2 separate regions of the Homo sapiens genome follow, and region 2 is linked to region 1. Evidence: promoter capture Hi-C in 16 types of primary human blood cells and fetal thymus (Javierre and others, 2016). All regions are on one chromosome and are shown on one strand. The core of a region is centred on a gene start or on the middle of the fragment in contact, and the rest is flanking DNA. Distances in the headings are between cores, read along the strand shown. Region 1 holds the start of GHITM (growth hormone inducible transmembrane protein). Region 2 has its middle 39 kb from the start of GRID1.

Region 1 (3,599 bases), core at 481-2,980:
CAAACTAGGTTTAAGTCCCAGTTTGACCAATCAAAATAGATGACTGCAAAAATTATGTGTAACACAGAACGGCTGTTAATAACTGGACGTGATTACAGAGTCTGTGATGGTTTTTACAAATGTAGTTTTGGCTTAAGATTTATACCAGCATCCAGTGGGAAAATTTAAAAGAATCTACATAACTTTTGGGCAAAGGAATAGTGTCATCCAAAGAAGACATGAATAGCTCTTCAAGGTTATACTGCATTACAAAGCTAAAAGGTATTAAAAGAAGCCAACTATATGAATTTCAGCTAATCATACCAAATATTACTTTCCTTCAACATGAGATATAAAAATATTCTAAGTTAACCTATTCTATATGTCCTACTATAATGCGTAAAGGACATTTAGTCTTTCAAAGTAAACAAGTAAACTCAGTTACCAACCAGGTTTCCCTTACATTAGACTCCCTCGATGGTGTCTTCAAAAGAAAAGCATGCTAAAAACTGGATTATCTTAGCTCCAGGGCACATTATACTAGATGGGTGGTCAACCAGAAGTCAGCAGACAGTGTTTCTGTAATGCTAAGGTGAGGTGACTACAATAGGTCAGAATGAAATGACGAGTGTAAACCAACTGGGGCTACCAGCCCATCTCTGCCAATGATTTGTAGTGAATTCTAGGCAAGTGATATACTTCTGGGCCCATTTCCCCATCTGTAACATAAGGATTCCGTGTTCAGACTACAGCGTTGACCCTTAGACTACCTGCTTGAAAGTGCCCCGGATGCATCTTAAAATGTAGGCTCCTGGGTCTTTCTTTGCTCCTAATGATTCTACCCCTAGGAATAAGACCAAGAACGTGTGTTTTAACGAACACTCCAAAAGCTAAGAACTATTGCTTTAAGATACCCGAGCGTCCTCCGAGCTCTGCAACTGAACTATTAAGGGTCTTAAAATTCGGCACCCGGCCTTTGGGAAAACACCCAGCGCTTTTGGAACTTTCGTGCCATTACATCATCTCAACCTATGGCTGTCCTGTATCTTCCTCAGTACTCAGTCCACTGGTTGGGGCCGAAGAGGTCCAGCTCAGAGTGACCTCCATGTGGCGTAACAGCCCAGAGTGGGAATCCCGCTTCTGACAGGTTAGAAGTGACCTTGTGAGGAGTGTGGATCTCTAAGACTCAGATGTCGTTGCTATAAAATGGGGAAAATACTACCGACCCTAATCCAAGGGCTTATGCCTCCGTGAGCATTGATGAGTTTGGGTGCCTGGTCCCCGAGAAAGTTCACCCAGCCCGCTAGATTCAGATGAGAACCCGGCAGCAAACTTCCCTGTCAACCCACAACACCTCTGCCCCTGCCCCAGGTGCCGCTACCAGCGCAGCGGCTGTACGGCCTCGCCGCAAGGATGACTCAGCACCTTGTTGCCCGAGGACAGAAGCACAGCTACACTGAGCCCTTGCCCGCCTGACCAGGGCCTTGTGCCGCCGCCCTCTCCACCAGGTCACCCACAGGACTGCGACCCCAACGCGCAGGCCGGCCCTGACGCAGCCAGCAGCACCGCTGCTTCCAGCCCTTCCCCCCGCACCCAGCGGTCCCGTGAGGGCGGCTGTCAGGACCACCGGGGATCCCGGGCGCCCGCCGGCCAGCCGGAGCAGTACCTCGGTCCCCGGTCACCTTCGCCTCGCAGTTTCCCTTCCGGGCCCCTAGCGTCGGCCTCAAAGAGCACAGTTCCTCCGGCGCACTGCATGACGCAACATCGAAAGGACGTAAATAGTACGAGCAGCCAATCACGGGCAGGCCTCTGTCGGAAAAGCGGCCACACTGGGGGAGGCGGGGTTCCGGGTTGAGGAGGCGGGGTTCCAAATTGGTGGGGCGGGGCCAGTTGAGGATTGTTGCAGGGAACGTCATAGTCAGCGTCCATTTTGCGTGTGGGCATGGGAGTCGTCTCGGCCATCTTTGTTTTGGGCAGTGGAGCTCTGTTTTGCTTTTGTTTTAGTCGTTTCACTCGCCGCAGCTATAAGAATTATGTAAAAATTGAAAGAAAGTAATGTTAGAGTTAAAAATTATTCCGTTTATTCCGTTCCTTTTTGAAGGCCTTTTTGTCCCTTAATTTATCGTGAGATAAATATCTTTTCAAATGTGTCTGCTTCTGAGCCGAGTCATCCGGTTTCTGGGGTCTCATGCCAAATGTTAGATGGTGACATCCAGAAAAGATTTTTTCTAGATGGTTTTTTCATTGCTTTGTGACTTTCCCGCCCACATTTTCAAGTTTCACCCTAAACCTGTGTAATAGGCCTGATAACAGCCGCCTCTGCCTTGCACCCAGGATTGCTCTGAGGACTAAGATGTTTCCATTGCGCGTAATTTGATAGGTGAAGAGCTAGTTGTGGAATACGCGAGAGAGTTACTTTCTTTTTCACTCTCCCTCTATTTCAACAGATATTTACTGAATGCTCAACTTCGTACCAAGCTCTGTTCTAGAAATATATACAAATGAATCAGCCGGGCGTGGTGGCTCAAGCCTGTAATCCCAGTACTTTGGGAGGCCGCGGCGGGTGGATCACTTGAGGTTAGGAGTTCGAGACCAGCCTGGCCAACGTGGGGAAACCCTGTCTCTACTAAAAATACAAAAATTTGCCAGGCGTGATTGGTGCCTGTAATCTAAGCTACTTGGGAAGCTAAGGCAGGAGAATCACTTGAACCCAGGAGGCGGAGGTTCCAGTGAGCCCAGATCCCGCAACTGCACTCCAGCCTGGGCGATAGAGGGAGACTCAGTCTCAAAAAAAAAAGAAACCAAAAAAACAAAAACAAAAAAACAGCAAATGAATTAAACCCGTGTGTGCTACCACTATTTTAACAAAATAAAGTCCTTGCTCTGTGGCTTTACTTTCTGGTAGAGACAGAACATAGAAAAAATATAATGTGATAACTTAATACCATGAAGAAAGAGCAGATTAAAACCCTGAAAGGGTGATAAGGTGATTAACAACATGCAAAATTCATGAACCTTTATCTCCTAAGCAGTAGTTAATTGTGATTTATGATTCCTAATCATGTAAACCTTGACAAATATAAAGACTTGCCTTCTATGTGGATAATAAAAGAGTCTGGCAGCAACACAATTCTTATCTCTTTACGCTGAAAATGGCAGGAAAACACTAGAGAAATCTCACGAAACTGAACAGATCAAGCATGATCAGTTTAATTTTTATTTTGATCTATGCCCAATTTTATTAGCTAGCAAATAGGTTTTCTGTTTGGCTCCTTCAGTGATAGTCTTTTTTTCTAGAGCTTCTGTTATCAGCAAAGAGAAAGGATTTACAACACAGTACCAGAATAAAGATCTTGAAGTCAATGACTCAAGCTTTCTTCAAGATTCCTATTAAAGCTTATTCTCTCCATATTGGAAGAAAAATGTCTGATTTCATATTTTCCTTTCTCAAGTAAAGGGCTTGTATTGTTGTTTCCACAGGGGTCAAATATTTTGAAGCAGGGGAGGAATCTGGTCATATCATTGGGAAATATATGCTCTTGTGGCAGTGTAGGAAGGGAGAGGTTCCATGGACCAGGAGACCAATTAGGAATTTATTGTAGTTGTTCAACCAAAAGGCA
Region 2 (3,599 bases), core at 809-3,308, 2.3 Mb before region 1:
CATGTGAGGATGCAGCGTCCCTCCTCTCTGGAAGACACAGCAAGGTGCCATCTTGGAGCCAGAGACCAAACCAGCTGGTGCCTTGATCTTGGATTTCCCAGCCTCTAAAACTGTGAGAAATAAGTTCTTGTTCTTTATAAATAATCCAGCCTCAGATATTCTGTTACAGCAGCACAAAATGGACTAACATGATCTGTAAACAACATGTTGCTCGGTTTTGCCTGTTTTTGAGATGCATAAAAATAGTACCTTATAATGTGCTATCTTCTTAAGGATTTCTTTTTCTTCCTCACTCACTTTTATGTTTCTGAGATTTATCTTTATTGCAACATGTAGCTGTAGGTCATCCATCTCCACAGCTGGATAATATTTCATTACATGAAATTTCTACAGTTTATCTATGCAGTAGACCATCCATGGAAATATGGAATGTTCTCAGAATTTTTTTTTAATTATTATTATTATTTTTTGAGACAGAGTCTTACTCTGTTGCCCAGGCTGGGGTGCAGTTGTATGATCTCCCCTTACTGCCACCTCCGCATCCCAGGTTCAAGCGATTCTTATGCCTCAGCCTTCCGAGTAGCTGGGACTACAGGCGTGCACCACCATGCCTGGCTAATTTTTGCGTTTTTAGTAGAGATGGGGTTTTATCATATTGGCCAGGCTGGTCTCAAACTCCTGACCTCAAGTGATCCGCCCACCTCGGCCTCCCAAAGTGCTGGGATTACAGGTGTGAGCCACTGTGCCTGGCCCTCCGAAGATTTTTAATTTCAAAGAATTCTGTTATGATCTATTTTGTAAATATCTCCTCATGCATATGTACAAGAGTTTCTCTAGATAGATACCTAAGAGTGAAATATCTGGCTATAGGATGTGTGCATATTCAGTTTAAAATACTGTCAACTTGTTTTCCAAAGTGACTGTGCCAATTTATACTCCTATGTGTAGCTAAAGGCGTCCCTACTGCTCTATCTTTCCACCAACACTTTGAACAATCAGATTTGAAATCTTTTGCCAATTTGGTAGACATAAATTAGCATCTCAAGTGTCATCTTTATTTCCATTTTCCTGATTACTGATGAGGTTGAGCATATTTACAGACCACTGGTCTTTTGTCCATTTTTCTATTGAGTTGTTTATCTTTTTCTTATTGATTTTTTTTTTTTTTTTTTTAGACAGAGTCTCACTCTGTTGCCCAGGCTGGAATGCAATAGTATGATCTTGGCTTACTGCAACTTCTGTCTCCCGGGTTCAAGAGATTCTCGTGTCTCAGCCTTCTGGGTAGCTGGGGCTACAGGCACTTGACACCATGCCCGGCTAATTTTTGTATTTTTAGTAGAGACGGGGTTTCTCCATGTTGGCCAGGCTGGTCTTGAACTCCTGACCTCAAGTGATCTGCCTGCCTCGGCTTCCCAAAGTCCTGGGGTTACAGGCATGAGCCACCATGCCCAGCCTCTTATTGATTTTTATACTTACGTATTCTGAATATGATTTCCTTGTTGATTATAATGTTGTGAATATATTCTTCCAGTTTGTGGCTTGACTTTACACTTTCTGTACAGTGTCTTTTATGAAATAGAGCTTCTAAATTTTAATGCAGTTGCATTTATTAATCTTTTCTTTTCTTCTTATTCTTTTTTTGTTTTAAAATGACGATGAAATGTGCCTTCATGTTCTGGAAGGTTTTTTTTTTTTTTTTTTTTTTTTTTCCCCAGGCTAAAGTGCAGTGCCGTGATCTCGGCTTACTGCAACCTCTGTTTCCCAGGCTCAAGCAATCCTCCCACCTTAGCCTCCTGAGTAGTTGGAACTACCAGTGTGCAGGTGTGCATCAACATGCCTGGCTAATGTTTTTGTGTTTTTGTTCAGATGAGGTTTCGCCATGTTGCCCAGGCTGATCATGAATTCCAGGGCTCAAGTGATCCACCTGCCTCGGCCTCTCAAAGTGCTAGGATTATAGGTGTGAGCCATCGTACCCGGCCCAATCTTTTATGATTCCAATTTTTAATATATTATTTAATAAATCCTTCTCTACCGAAGTTGTTAAAACATTCTCCTACATTAGTTTCAAAAACTATTAAACTTTGATTTTCACATTTAAGTGATCTTTTTGAAATTATTTTTTGTATTAAAAATATAAATTTTGTGTTTTTTCCATATGAACAACCAATTGTCCCAGCACCATTTCTGTCCTTTCCCTGTTGGTCTTTGTGGTAGGCTGAACAATGGCTCTCCATAGATGTCCACATACTAATCTCTGTAACTGTGAATGTGTTACTTTTTAAGGAGAAAAGGAATCTGCAGGTATGATTAAGTTAAGGATCTTGAGAAGGGGAGATTATCTTGGATTACGTAGTGATCCCAGTATAATCAGAAGGTCCTCATTGGAGGGAGGCAGAGAAGTTAGAATCAGAGAAATGTAAAGACAGAAGTAGCTCAGGGGTTGAAGTGATGCACGTTAAAAATGGAGGAAGGGGTCACAAGCCAAGGAATGTAGGCTGGCTCTAGAAGCTGAAAAAGAATTCTTCCTTTGAACCTCCAAAAGGAACACAGCCCTGCAGACACATTAGAATTCTGGCCCCCAGAACTGCCTGATAATAAATGTGTATTGCTTTAAGTAACTAAATTGGTGGTAATTTGTTGCAGTAGCAATAGGGAACTAATAAAGTATTCAAAATCACCTTTGTTGGATGTCAAGTTTTCATATTTTTCTGAGGCTGCTTCTAGGTTCTCTATCCTGTTTCATTAGTCTATTATGTATCCTTCTGCCAACACCACACTCTTAGTTATAGTAGCTTCATTATAAATATTGACCTGGTAAATCAGGTCCTTTATCCTCCTCTTCCTACCTGTGTCATGGCTACTTGACTCTTCTTGGGCCTTTGCTTTTCTAGATAAATTTCTTTCTTTTTTTTTTTTTTGAGATGGAGTTTTGCTGTGTTTCCCAGGCTGGAGTGCAGTGGCACAATCTTGGCTCACTGCAACCTTTGCCTCCCAGGTTCAAGCAATTCTCCTGCCTCAGCCTCCCTCCCAAGTAGCTGGGATATATGCCACCATGACTGGTTAATTTTTGTATTTTTAGTAGAGACGGGGTTTCACCATGTTGGCCAGGCTTGTCTTGAACTCCTGACCTTGAGTGATTTGCCCCCCTCAGCCTCCCAAAGTGCTGGGATTACAGGCATGAGCCACCGTGCCCAGCCTCCAGATAAATTTCAGCATCTGCTTATCAAGTTCCTCAAATATGGCCATTGGGGTTTTTGTTTAGAATTACATAGATTCTAGAAATCAATTTGGGAAAAATTGACCTCATTTGGTATTGAGTTTTCTAAAAACACATTATACTCTTGTATTTATTTATGTCCTTCATATATTATAATAAAGTCTTTAAATTTTTTTCTTACACATCTTTTGTAAGACTTTTTCCTAGATACCTTGTATTTTTTTGTTACTAGTGGAAATAGTATTATTTTAAAAATTATACATAACATTTAAAAGATTATGCCTTCTAACTGCTGTTGTATAAAAATGCAATTGATTTTTATATAAGCTCTTAGTATAATAAATTATCTACAGATTTATTTGGTTTTCTATTAGATATGAAT

Evidence for each region. Contacts are between HindIII fragments. The CHiCAGO score rates a contact against its expected background, and 5 or more counts as called.
Region 2: a contact is called between a fragment that was not itself captured here and the fragment with the promoter of GHITM in region 1, in 6 of 17 cell types (naive CD4 T cells, total CD4 T cells, naive CD8 T cells and 3 more). The highest score is 11.2, in naive CD4 T cells.

Annotation. Positions count from the first base shown.
Region 1 is chr10:84,137,640-84,141,238 of GRCh38, reverse strand. GHITM (growth hormone inducible transmembrane protein) reads right to left here and starts at 1,730. Exons shown (of 9, transcript NM_014394.3): 1 at 1,646-1,730. RefSeq lists a silencer at 1,450-1,649 and enhancers at 1,223-1,792, 1,793-2,362. The HindIII fragment of the contact is 9,095 bases long and covers 1-3,353 here.
Region 2 is chr10:86,404,409-86,408,007 of GRCh38, reverse strand. No RefSeq gene overlaps it. Among named protein-coding and RNA genes, the nearest start is that of GRID1, 39 kb to the right of the region's middle. The HindIII fragment of the contact is 7,283 bases long and covers 1-3,599 here.